Linked DNA regions of Homo sapiens: region 1 is linked to region 2. Evidence: promoter capture Hi-C in human tissues and cell types (Jung and others, 2019). All regions are on one chromosome and are shown on one strand. The core of a region is centred on a gene start or on the middle of the fragment in contact, and the rest is flanking DNA. Distances in the headings are between cores, read along the strand shown. Region 1 overlaps SRBD1 (S1 RNA binding domain 1). Region 2 holds the start of PREPL (prolyl endopeptidase like).

Region 1 (6,358 bases), core at 2,300-4,799, 1.1 Mb before region 2:
CAAAGGAGTTCCCCAACTTGAGTGGCTTCTGATGCCAGTGCAGAAGAGCATTAGTATTTGAGCAGTTGAGAAGTACATTCAGAGGAAATTTAGAGAAAAAGATTATTGAAATTATCCCAATTATGATGCCAACTAACATATGTATGTGATTATTTTTAACTAAAGAAGAAGGATAAAGAACTTTGAACCAGTATAGTGTGGTCCTTTGTCTATTTATTTGCATATTTTGATTTTTAAATAATGAACAAAAAGGATTCATTCAAAGCAAAGCTATTTTAAACTTACCCTGAAAAGTTAAAAGTGATTCTTTGGGAAAAGAAGGAAAAAAGATTTAAAAAAAATTACCACTGTCCCACCTTCACCCAAGTGTATACAGGAGGTTTCCATGTCTTTACATATTAACAAGCTTATTTCTTTACTAAAGTTATGTGGATATTTTGGTAAAGAAATGATAAGCTTGTTATTGTTATCTCTAACTTCTAGGCTCAAGTGACTCTCCCACCTCAGTCTCCTGAGTAGCTAGGACTACAGGTGCACCACCACACCCAGGTAATTTTTAATTTTTTTTGTAAAGTTAGGGTCTCACTATGTTGCCCAGGCTGGTCTCAAGCTCCTGACCTCAAGAGATCCTCACGCCTTGTCCTTCCAAAGTTATGGTATTATAGGTGTGAGCCACTGCTCCTGGCCAGTATAAATATTAATATGTTCTGGTGTTAGTACTGTAAAATGGATTTTCTTATGTAGAGCTGTTGAAGAACTTTAAAACTTCCTGTAGATTCTCTGTAACATTTTGTATTTTGCCCCTTAGAATAAAAAACAGCTGCACCAGATTATGAATATTTCTCTGGAAATTCAGCCCTGTAATAGACATTTATGGAGTACCTGTCATTAAAGATTAAGCGCCTGGTCTGATGAAAATTACTAGATATGCGTAAGAAAAAATCTGGAAGCAACACTCTTTGTAAAACTAGTGGGTAGTTATCACCTCTTTTTTTTTTTTTTTTTCAAAATAACTTCAGAACTATTTGCATATAACCACTGCAAAAGAGTTGTTTTGTTTTTCTTTGTTTACTTAGCTGCTTACAGTATACACATTTCCACTTTATTCCCTGATGTTACTGGTTCTTCTCCCTACCACACCCTGCCTGTCTGCCAAAGTTTTAGATGTTTACAGTGTTCTTCCCATCTGCATGCTAGACAGTTTCTACCTTAAACACCATTGATCTCGTCCCTGAACTCCAAACTCCATATGTCCACCTGCCATCTTAACCTTTCAATTTGGAAGTCTAATAGGCTTCTCAAACTTAACATGTCTAGAAAAAAACTGTTGACGTCCCTCCACTAATCCCCCCCACCAAAATTTTAAAATTAAAACCGCAGTACTGTCTTATCCTTCCCTGTTTCTATTAATGGCATCATCATCTGCCCAATTAGTAAAACTGCAAACCTGTTGTCATTAAAAACTTCTTGTTATTAAGATTCTTTATTCTTCCTTTTGCTTCATCATTCTCTACTATTAACTCCATCTGCTTCTTTCCCTCTTTTTCCTCCAGCTACCTGACTCTAGGCAGCCATCATCTCCCTCTTGATATACTGAGAAAGTCTCTTACCAGGACTTCCTGTTTTCACTTTTGTCTTTTTAAAATCCATTTTCTACAGCATAATTTTTAAAAAGTATGTCAGATCCCATCTCTGTTCCCGTTGTCTCTGGAATAAAATTCAAACTCCTTGCCATGGAGACTTACAAGAGCTTGTCTACTCTCCAGCCTTATTTCTTAGTACTTTCCCCTTTTTTTGGTTATGTCTCAGCCAGATTGCCCTCCTTTCAATTTCAGCACTGTAGCTTGTTACTACGTGTGGCCATTCAAAACAGTAGATATTTATTACAAACTTACTTTTAGGGACGAGACACTACTGCCTCCAGAGAAGGAAAGAAATTTTGTTAGAATATTATAAAAGGGTGGCATGTAAAGGTAGCTAGACTGCCTTATCTCCATTTCTTCTCAGTGTCAGAAAACTCTCAAACTAAAATGGAAATAAGTTGCTGATTCACTTTAAAACCCAAACTTACTTAAAATAAACTGTCAGTTCTAAGCTGAGATTTACTCCAATAGAATATTCCCTTGATGGGTTGAGAATGAATAAGATGAATTATCTGAGTCCTGATCTTGCTCATATAGCTGTTTCTTTAAGGACCAACATTTGGTTCCTATACCGTAGGATTCTCTCCCTGGTAAAGAGGAGTTAGTAATATCCATATCTCTTTTCTAAATTCCAGAATTCTTCAATTTGTATTTTCTTTAACTCTGTGACCTAGCCGTTGTCCACGGCACAGTTAGTCTGTGGGTCAAATGGGTGTGGTTTCACCTAATTCTCCCAGAACGGGAGATATTGCAGGAAAATGAGTCCTACTACAATGAACATTAAAGAAAAGATTATGTCTAAAGGCAACATTTTCATATAAGTTTTTTCCCATATCTATTAATTGCATCAAGGTATGTGTCTGTACCAACGTATGCTGTTGGACCTTTCTGTTAGAGGTGCTTAATTGGTTTCTGACCATGTCAGTTATAAGATAGAGAATCTGTCTGTGGTAAATGACATCCCATAAATGAGTTTCATAAGGCTTGACCTGGGAGCTGACATGTCAGGACTTCCTAGTGTGTCTTTGCATACCGGTTCTAAATCTCCCAGCTTCTTTGGTATCTTTTTATTGTATGACAAGATGCTGTACTTTAGTTCATGTTTGAAGCGACAGAAGCTTAAGTTTTGAGTTCCCAGGAAAAGAAAGACTTAAACATTTCCAATTAAAGCATCAGAGATTAGTCTGACTAGGGTGTGAGTTAACAGGAACTCTTTATTGACCTAAAAACCTACCCAGAAAGTATTGGCATGAGAATTTGGCAGCTTGGAGTGGGAGGGCCTATGGCTATGGTCAGTCTTAACATGTTAGGACATCTTAAATTTCACTTTAAAATTTCTGAGTTTGCTGTTGATTGATGCCTGCTAAGAAAGCGTTTCTATAATAGGAATTGAGATTGTGCTGCTGTAATGCCCTCAAGCAATGCCACGTCACCAGTATCTCCTCCTATTTTAGGGCAATTCTTTTTCTTAAACCAAATTCCCAGCTTCAGCAAGAAGAATCCAAAAGCCGAACTGTTAGAAATTTGTCCCTGGTTTTTCCTTCCTTTACCCAATTTATTGAGTAGCTACTATGTACTAAGAAGCATGGTGTTAAGAAGTGGGAATACAAAGAAAAGTCTAAATGGCCAGCAAATGAACAAAGAGATCTTCAACTAAACCAGTACTTAAGGAAATAAAATTAAAGCAGCAGTTAGAGTGAGTACGTACTATGTACCAGGATACAATAACAAATCATATTTATTTACTTACACACATACACACCTGTGTGCATCAGGTGATAATAAATACTATGGATAAAATAGGAAATGGGGATAGGAACAGTATGGGAGGCAGAGTTTTGCAGCCTGGTCTTCACTGCCACCAGTGCATGAGGCTAGGTGTGGAGGATCATTGCAGATCACATGGAGTGCCTGGGCTCTGTCGCCATGGTTATGTAGAGATGGGACATGGAAGCGAAAGGAAACCTTTCCTTTCCATATTAACTCTCTGACTCCACATTAATGTGGATCCTGTCCTGGCAGTGTCAGCCTCAGGTCTAATTTGAAAGGTTTACTGTCTATAATAATAATGGGCTGGAAGCCAGTTCACATCTGACTACATGTGTGGCCACATACATGTATGTGTATTTGGGAAGAGAAAATGTATCTTTAGAACTTACTACTGGAAACATTAGGAAAGAGCCTTTTTTCTACATGTGGAGAAGAAAAGCCTTTTTTTATTATTATGCGTTAATACTCTTTTTTTCTCCAACCTCTGTCTCCTCAAACAGACAAATAATTTAAACATGGCTGTCAAAATTTCTGAACACCAGGAGGATGCCTCCCTGCCTTCCCTCCCTCCTTCCCTCTATTTCTGTCTCTCTCTTTCTGTCTCTCTCACACAGAACCATAGTTTCAGATCAGATTTTCTACACACTGTTTTAATTTATTAGAAGGGAAAAATTCTTTCTTATGGCTAAAAGTTTGCACTCTTGATTTTTCTAAAGTCCACTTTTATGACTAAGCTATAAATCTCTAAAAATAGAGATTTACAGTGGAAATGTCAACTCCTTTGTATTATGTCAGGTCAAAATGTGTAGCTAATTGGTGTGCATTTGTTCATGCATATGTCATGAGCCAGAACTATGTTTTAGCCCAGTGACCACACATGGGGGCAGATAGGTGTGGTCCAGTTCAGATATACTAATGTTTTCTTTGTTTATGGTAAATTAGAATAGTGCAAGGTACTGGTTTGGAAAAATATGTGGGCAAGGCAGACATTTAGGATTTATGAACCTTTACTTAGCCAGTATTGCCCTATCATTCGTCCACCATATCGACCTGTATCCACTAGGGGACATAAGAACACCTACTGGAGGAAAGAATGAAAGTTTGTCTGCATTAAAATTTAAACACAGGACTCTTAGATAACATACAAAAAGACTCATTTTTTTAGTTTCATGATTCATAAAGAAGTTATATATTTTGTTTAAATTTTAATCATCACCAGAAACTTTTAAAGGCAGGATCAGTATCTTAACGTCTATTTATGGAATGAGAACCAAACAAGCAGCTAACTAGCAAGCTTGTGTCATTAACTGACTACCTATGTGGTCTACAGAAGCTATGCTGAGAATGATTCTGGCTTTACAAAATACTTTATATAGAAAAGGATTACCTTTTAGAGTCAGGAGGTGAGACATCTGGGGAGGACATCTGCTATCAGATTGCAGTGGACAAAAACCAGAAGTGTTCTATATTTTGCACCCCGGCCACTAGCTATGAAACCCGAGAGACAGATGTTAAGGGCACTGCTGTTGTCTTCTAAACTGATTATCTGGCCTACCAGGTTAGAAACTTAGGTTGTATTTTTTACTTATGGTTCTTTTTTTTTTTCGGTATGATCTACCTGCAGAAAAAAATGCAAAGATTTTAAGTGATACAGTCTTTATAGACAATTTTTGCTTTTTAGTTGGAGTTTTTACTAACATTTAATATAAGTATTAATATAACTGAATTAAGGTCTACAGTTTTGCTGTTTGCTTTGTTTGTCCCATCTGCTTTTTGATCATTTCTTGTTCCTTTTCTGCCTTATTTTGGCAGAAAATCAAATCATTTTTAGTTTTTCATTTTAATTCTGTTGACTTTTCAGCTATACTTCTTTGCATTTTTTTTAAAGTGGTTACTCTAGGGATTATAATACACAGTCATATCTTCTCAGTCAACAGTGGTTAATATTTTACCACCTCACCTCCTTCTTTGTGCTATATATATATGCATATATATATATATGCATTCATCAATTGTTTTATATATATATATATATATGTCCTAGAATACCATGTTTTACTTTTTGCTTTCTGGTTTTATGTCTTTTAAGTAAAATTAGAATAAACACGCACAATTTTATATTTACCCATATATTTTCCAGCTGGTGTCAATTTCCTTTAGTCTGCAAAATTCCCTTTAAAATTTTTTTGTAGTGTAGGTCTGCTGGCAATGAGATCTCATTTATCTAAAAATCCCTTTTCCGTTATCTTTAAAGATATAGAATTTGAGGTTGACAAGTGGTTGTGGTGTGTGTATGTGTGTGTGCAGCACTTTAAAGATACCGTTTCATTGTCTCCTGGCCTCTGTTGTTTCTGATAAAAAGTTAACCATTACTCATATTGTTGTTCCTCCATATATAACATGTACATTCTCTCTGGCTACTTTGACAATTTTCCCTTTATCTTTGTTTTCCAGCAGTTTGACCATAAAGTTTCTAGGTATAGTTTTCTTTGTTTTTGTCCTTCTTAGGGTTCACTGAGCTTCTTGCATCTTTACATTATGTTATGTTTTTGAAAAAATTGGGGAAAGTTTTGTTACTACTTCAAATATTTATCTGCCCTATTCTCTCTTTCCCTCTCAGGACTCCAGTTACATATAGTTGTGCATTGTGATCTTGTCCCACAGTTCATTAAGGTTCTTTTATACCCCCCATCCTCGCCTCTCCTTCTTTTTTTATTTCTGGTCTTCAGATAGGATAATTTCTGCATATCTCTCTTCGTGTTCACTGATTTATTTATTTTTCTACTCCAATCTGCTGTTAAGCCCATTCAATAATTTTATTTCAGATGCTGTATTTCTTTATTCTTTGTTTATTAAAGCTTTAATTCCTTTACTGCTGTTTACCATCTATTCATTGATTTGGGACCATATTTGCCTTTAAGTCCTGGAGCCACTTTAAAGTTCTT
Region 2 (6,693 bases), core at 3,343-5,842:
GCTTAAAAGTTTACTATCAGTTTAGGTGTTGGAAGCCAACTATAAACATTTGAAGAATTACAAATACCTAGAAAGATTTGACACTCAGAAAATAACTTCACTTGGAATATGTATCGTTATTACAATTCACCTCTTAACCAACTTTTTCAATTAGCCAATCCAGGAAAAAGCATCCTGCTTTGATATAAACTGAACTGTGAAATATTCCATAATCAGATTCTTCAGCCAAGTATTCATACCTCTAGGCAACATTTTTCATTCGGTAGGTGGTTTGTAAATACGTGTGTAACAGTCATTGCTACTTTTTCATCTGCCCTACATTGCCTCCTTTTAGGAACTGCCCCTCTCTCACTCTATGTAATTCTAGTGAGGTTGTTACCTTACCTGCCACAGGGTAGGCTGATAACCCAGGTTAGCCAAAGTGCCCCATTCTGGACACAGCAATTGGTCTAACCTTGGCCTATCAGAGTCCTTTGGAGGAAATGATTTGGATGTTGGGGAAAAGAGTTATTTCTTCTGGATTACTAGCTGGATGGATATGAAAGCCCGGAGTTGCCAGTGGCCATCTTCGTCAACATGTAATGAGACTCAACAAAGAGGAAAACAGAACAACATCCATAACCTCTACTGATATTGATTCATCATCTTCCAGACCTCATCTAATTTAAGTACTCGCTTGACTCAAATCTTGGCAACTTACCATGTAACCTGGAACCAAATGATGCACTAGGTCAACCAGGTTTTCTCTCAAAACCTATGTTTTGTTAATTACAAAACACAGAAAATACTGAATAGTTAACATAAAGTAAAAGGCCATGAGACAGCCTTGGAGCTCTATAGGGTAATGGAAAGACAGAATTTTAAAGGAAAAAACAAGTAGACAGAGCAGATGTTCTTCAGATGTCCCACGAGCGAGAAAAGGAGTCACATATCTCTAGCACTGCTTAGATTCCTTATAGTTTTCCAGTACTAGATGCATATAGGATAGGAATGGTTCATTCATTTGAAATACATTTACTAAGAGCTTGTAAATGTTTAATATATGTGATCGATTAAATTGTAATAGAAAAATATTCACTTCCTCTTTGTCACCTCCAAGGAAGGAGTTGTATTTCCCTGCCCCTTGAATTTGGCCTTTGCCAAATATCTTACTTTGGCCAATAGGAAATAAACACATGATGTGAGCAGGGGTTTAAAATGTGTCTCTGTGGTTGGGCTTGCTCTTATACCTCTGCTATCACCATGAGGACTTCAGCCCACTAGTCCAAAGATTAGAGACATATGGACCACATGTGCATCATAGAGATACCCAGATGACTACAGCCTATGTCGGTCAGCTCCCAGGTGGCCCCCAGATGCACCAACAAAATAAATACTAACTGTTGTATGCCACTGTGATGTTGCGGTTCTTACTTAGCAATAGCTTACTGATAAAATACACTAAGGACTAGGTGCTATGCGCCACTTAAAGACTGTCCTTACTCTCAGGCTTTCCACAGACACTGAACAACATCTACTAAAAATCAATTAACCAGGCCCTGTGCTAGGTGCAGAGGATGTAAATTAATAAAACATCACCTTTTCCCAGGGTGAATGCCCATTCTAGTAAGAAAAAGAGACCCTGATCACATGATCATAAAATAATATAAAGGGCTCATTGGTAGAGTTGGCTGAGGGTCTAACTTAGCCCAGAGGCATTAGGGGTGGCTTCACAGAAGAGTAGTTTGAAATGGAAGTGTGAAGAATGAACAATCATTCACCAAGTAGAGAAGATAAAAAGACTATAAGCAGGCAGATATATACCAAAAGTTTCGATGTCAGAACGTGTGGGGACTTCATGTAACAGCCACAGCTGAAACTTGTCACTGTTTTCATTTAGACCGCAATTTAGAATGAACATAAGTGCTGTAGTTTTTACTATACTGAGAATCACTGAAAGCCAGGTATCATGGCATACCCCTGTAATTCCAACTACTCAGGAGGCTGAGGTGGGAGGATTGCTTGAGCCCAGGAGTTACCTGCCTGGGCAACAAGCAAGACTCTATCTTATTTAAAAAAAAAAAAAAAAAAAAAAGGAAGGGTGGGGGCGGTGGGCGTGGCAGGCATGGTGGCTGATACCTGTAATCCCAGCACTTCGGGAGGCGAGGCAAGTGAATCACCTGAGGTCAGGAGTTTGAGACCAGCCTGGCCAACATGGCGAAACTCCGTCTCTACTAAAAACACAAAAATTAGCTGGGCGTAATGGCGAGCACCTGTAATCCCAGCTATTCGGAAGGCTGAGTACGGGAGAATTGCTTGAACCAGGGAGGCGGAGGCTGCAGTGAGCCGAGATTGCGCCATTGCACTCACGTCTGGGCAACACAGTAAGGCTCTGTATCGAAAAAAAAAAAAAAAAAAGAAGGGGGTTGCCGGGCACGGTGGCTCATGCCTGTAATCCCAGTACTTTGGGAAGCCGAGGTGGGTGGATCACCTGAGGTGGGGAGTTCGAGACCAGCTTGACAAACATGGAGAAACCCCGTCTCTACTTAAAAAAAAAAAAAATTAGCCAGGCGTGGTGGTGCATGCCTGTAATCCCAGCTACTGGGGAGACTGAGGAAGGAGAATCATTTGAACCCTAGAGGCGGAGGTTGTGGTGAGCGGAGATGGCAGCCATTGCAGTCCAGCCTGGGCAACAAGAGGGAAACTCCATTTCAAAAAAAAAGGAGGGGGGAAGGGGGGTTGAGTCCACTCTCCCCAGCTCACGCCAGATCTCATTTCAGTGGTCACTATTAAAAAAAATTAGATATTTACTTTATTATAGATACTTCCTATGATGATCTGTGAGGACATGCATTTTCTTATCCTGTAATACCATTTGTAACAATAGCAAAACCAGATCATTACTGGTCTGGAAAGACTGTCAATGTATCAGCAAATAAATCTTAATTAACTCTGATGATCTACTTAACTCATAACTCTAAAAGCACTAAAAGACCACTGTATGAAAAGGTGACTCAAGGCAACTGCAAACAAAGTGATCCCCAAAATACTAAAAGCACAATCTCAAGTAAAGTGGCAATAGCTGGGAAACTCTTTTCCAAACACAACTGTCAGAAATGGAAAAATGTCCTCCTGAGTAAAGTTTTCGGCAGAAAACTTCAGGCAGAGGCATAACACTGCTATGCAAAAACAATAACCAGACTTCACTTCAAGAAGTGAGCGAAGAATGTGAGTGATCATAAATCAGAACTTCCGTCAAGCTTGCACGAGTGGAGTTGTAAGTAACAGCAGAAACTTTGAAGTACCAGAAGATACCATCATTCAAAAACGAACACACTTTGACTAGCCCACCTTGGACACGGAGAATCTCGCTGATCACTACAAACTACAAGATAATCATTTAACTTTGAGACCTCAGTGAGAGAGGGTATCAGCTTTTCCTACTCCTTGCACGCTCCGCTGTACGGAAGATGCCGAGGGAACGCATGCCGTGTCTCAGTCCCGGCATAGTCAACCACGCTGGGCAAAAGACGGGGCCAGAGGGTGCAGACGAATATCGGTAACTCGAACCAGGCTGGGAGTTAAGCTAGAAGAAACTGGGGAAGGAGGCAAAACAGAAGCAGGAAAAGAGCAGTGGGGAGCGGCGGGCGCACCAGAGACTGGCGAGAAGGGGAAAAGTCCCCCAGACGCACAAAAATGTCTAGAAGGGGTTCTTCTACTTCGATCTGAGTTTCCCAGGAGCTCAGCCTTGGCTGTCCCGCTCCCCACCCAACCCCACATGATTCCTCCTCTTGGATGGGACGCTTAGGTGAAGCGAGGGGGAGCTTCGCAGGTGGCTCCCGGCAAACTGAGAAGGGTCTCCCAGAGCTGCCAAGAGGAAAGAACTGCGAACAGTCGCTCCCCCGGTACGTGAGAGAGGAGTGACCAGAGGCAAAGGTGAGGCGAGCAGGTTCTCCCTTACCTGCCGCAGGAGCTTCCACCGGGCGGCTCCCAGGGGCGCCGAGACTACGGGCCCCCGAGTGGTGCAGCCAACTGCCGGACTCCCGCCCGCTGCTCGCGCGGTCTCGCCGGTCCCAGCGTCCGCGACTCGCGACTCCATCTCACTGGAGCCTTCCACACCCGGAGGTGCCACCGCCGCAGCTCGTCCCCTGCCAGGACCTGCCAACTTCTTCCCTGTCAGGACCTGTGACGCCCGGCACCCTCCCTCCACCGGACCAGGCATGCGCGCTCTCCCCGAATTCCGCATTTCCGGTACTCGCATCTCCTTGGCAACCAGGGCCGAGCTGTCACGCCATTGCACCATTCTTGCTGGTAGCCATCTTGAGTGAGGGCGGACCAGAGGATGAGAGAGCTGTGGCAGGGCTACTGGAACGCTGTCCCTCATTGTTTTAGCCTTCTGTGCTTCATCTCGAGCTCAGAAGACTAGCGAAGAACGAAAAGTCTTATATATTTCGAGACTAAAGAACCCAGGAACCCAAGAAGACTCCTTGACCACAACAAAGATGGCGAAATCTGCCTGTTGCTCGTGCTAGATTGAGGTTACGTAGATTGGCGTGCTGCAAACCAGCTCTAGGCGGCTCTGGGTAAGTTGTCGTTCTGTGGGCTGCGGAACGCAGACTTCGGCTGGACTTGCCTGCGGTGACACCTGCTCCCCTCTGAGAGCTTCAGGTTCTCCGGCCTGCCTTCACTGGTTTGTGTCCAGAGCCGGACTGATTCTCTCAATTTGCGTATGTATGGGGGGTGTGCTGGTCTCTTTCCTTCTCCCCTTTCTCCCCCCGCCCAGCCACCCACCCCTCAGTCCCCAGGTCCTCGCTTTTTGACTAATGTCCCGGCACTGCGTGCGTGTCACCTGGTCCCTCTCCCTGTTGCATTCAGATCGCCTCATCCCTGGGGTGGAGAGTTGCACGGGGTAAACGAATAGGTTCTCCTGAGAACACCCATTTATCTACCCCACCCCCATCCTAGCCTTGCATACTGTCTTCTTGGGGATGAAAGATGGATGGATAAAGGCTGTGGGAACGTGGTGATGTAGGACCTTTGCAGGTCCTTGTTATTCGGGTCTTTTTTCCCCTTTTTTTACTAGTGTCGGCTAGTAAACTAGTGTTGCTCCCCTACCCCCAATCGCCCATTATTTTGCTGCGACATGGAAAGGGATTAAGGGGGGCGGGGGCGTCGTAGCGCATCTGATCTATGGTAAATTTGACGCAGCATTCTACCTTTGATACCAGGGGGCATTTTGTGGAAGACTTCCATAATGACATTCAGCGGTGTGCAACATACCTAGATTATTCCTGTCGTAAATAATAGCAACTGCCATTTATTGAGTGGTCACTATGTGCCAGGCACTGTATGGTCTTAATGTTAAGCTGTCTCATTTTGTCTTTACAACAACAACCCTAGAAGGTAAATGGTGTCATTTCATTTTTGCAGATGAAGAAACTGAGGCCCGGAGACACAGTTAAGTGTAGGAGCTAAGACCTCAACCCAGGTCTCTCTGACTCTTAACTACTTATTAGCAATCAAGGTTAATAAAAGCTACCTCCTGACAAACCAGAGATGGCCTTACATTTTATTTGTGCATCTTGCAGGGGTTTTTTGTTGTTTTTAATTAAAGCGCTAAATACCTTTTTAACATTAAAAATCCGAAGTTGAGTATGTCCAGTATTTGGAACCGAACCAAATTGGATTTTTTGCTATACAGCTTACTGTACAAGTGACCTGGAACAGTTGCTTAGAACCTCCCACAGCCACAGTTTGGCAACCTGTAAAATGTGCATGGTAATATCTACTTTATTAAGTCCATATAAAATTTAAATTAGACAAACAAGATAAAAGCACCTGGCAGTTAGTTAACACTCAACAATAATTAATCTTCCCTCCCCCACCTTTATTAAATAATTAGGCTTTTCCAGTTTATCTTCCACATATATACCAAAGATACGTTCATAATTATGTAAGACCAAAGGGCTTTTTACCTTTTACAGCCCTGAGTTCCTGAGATACCCCATTAAGTCTGTGTACTTATTTGCAAATTTATATTTTGTTTCTTGTTTTGTTTTTTGTTTTAGTTTAACCCCTATGTGTGCCAGAGTCAGTGCTGCATAGTTTGAGCCTGATAGGATTAACTTTACAAATGAGACATTTAAGTCACATCTGCCAAGAATTATGATTTGAATGAAACTTTAACTTACACAGGTTTTTAGATTTAGTTAGCCTAAGTTATCAGCTGTCTGAAGTTATTCATAACCTAAGTGGGGCATGGCCCTGAAAAGGAGGGATGAGAACTGCTGATCTTAGTTACTCTGAGAACCCACTACTCTGTAATCATACCTATAAAATCATTCGTGTGCTGGCAGCCCCAAAAGGAGCATAAACCAGGGACTTTGATATCATGCAGCAGAAGACCAAATTATTTCTCCAAGCTTTGAAGTATAGTATTCCTCACCTTGGAAAATGCATGCAGAAACAGCATTTGAATCACTATAACTTCGCTGATCATTGTTACAATAGAATAAAATTGAAAAAATATCACCTAACCAAGTGTCTTCAGAATAAACCCAAGATATCAGAGTTAGCAAGAAACATCCCAAGTCGGAGCTTCTCATGTAAGGTATGGACTGTTTAAGTTAACCTATTTGTAGGTCATTAAGATTAATTTTAATTTAAAAATAAAGAATGGGTAGAATATCAGAGCTACTAATTTTCTCAGTAATT

The links. The method cuts DNA at HindIII sites, captures the fragments that hold promoters and counts their contacts. A contact is called where the count stands out against the background at its distance.
Region 1: a fragment that was not itself captured here is called in contact with the fragment with the promoter of PREPL in region 2 in 1 of the 25 tissues and cell types used here (aorta).

Annotation. Positions count from the first base shown.
Region 1 is chr2:45,438,453-45,444,810 of GRCh38, reverse strand. The region is part of intron 16 of SRBD1 (S1 RNA binding domain 1); the gene reads left to right. Among named protein-coding and RNA genes, the nearest start is that of SRBD1, 170 kb to the left of the region's middle. The HindIII fragment of the contact is 3,880 bases long and covers 1,610-5,489 here.
Region 2 is chr2:44,359,393-44,366,085 of GRCh38, reverse strand. PREPL (prolyl endopeptidase like) reads left to right here and starts at 4,592. Exons shown (of 14, transcript NM_001171613.2): 1 at 4,592-4,706. It overlaps CAMKMT (calmodulin-lysine N-methyltransferase), which reads right to left and starts at 4,139. Exons shown (of 11, transcript NM_024766.5): 1 at 3,941-4,139. The coding sequence starts at 4,078. RefSeq lists enhancers at 3,432-4,325, 4,044-4,513, 3,750-4,949, 4,326-5,220. The HindIII fragment of the contact is 8,691 bases long and covers 1-6,693 here.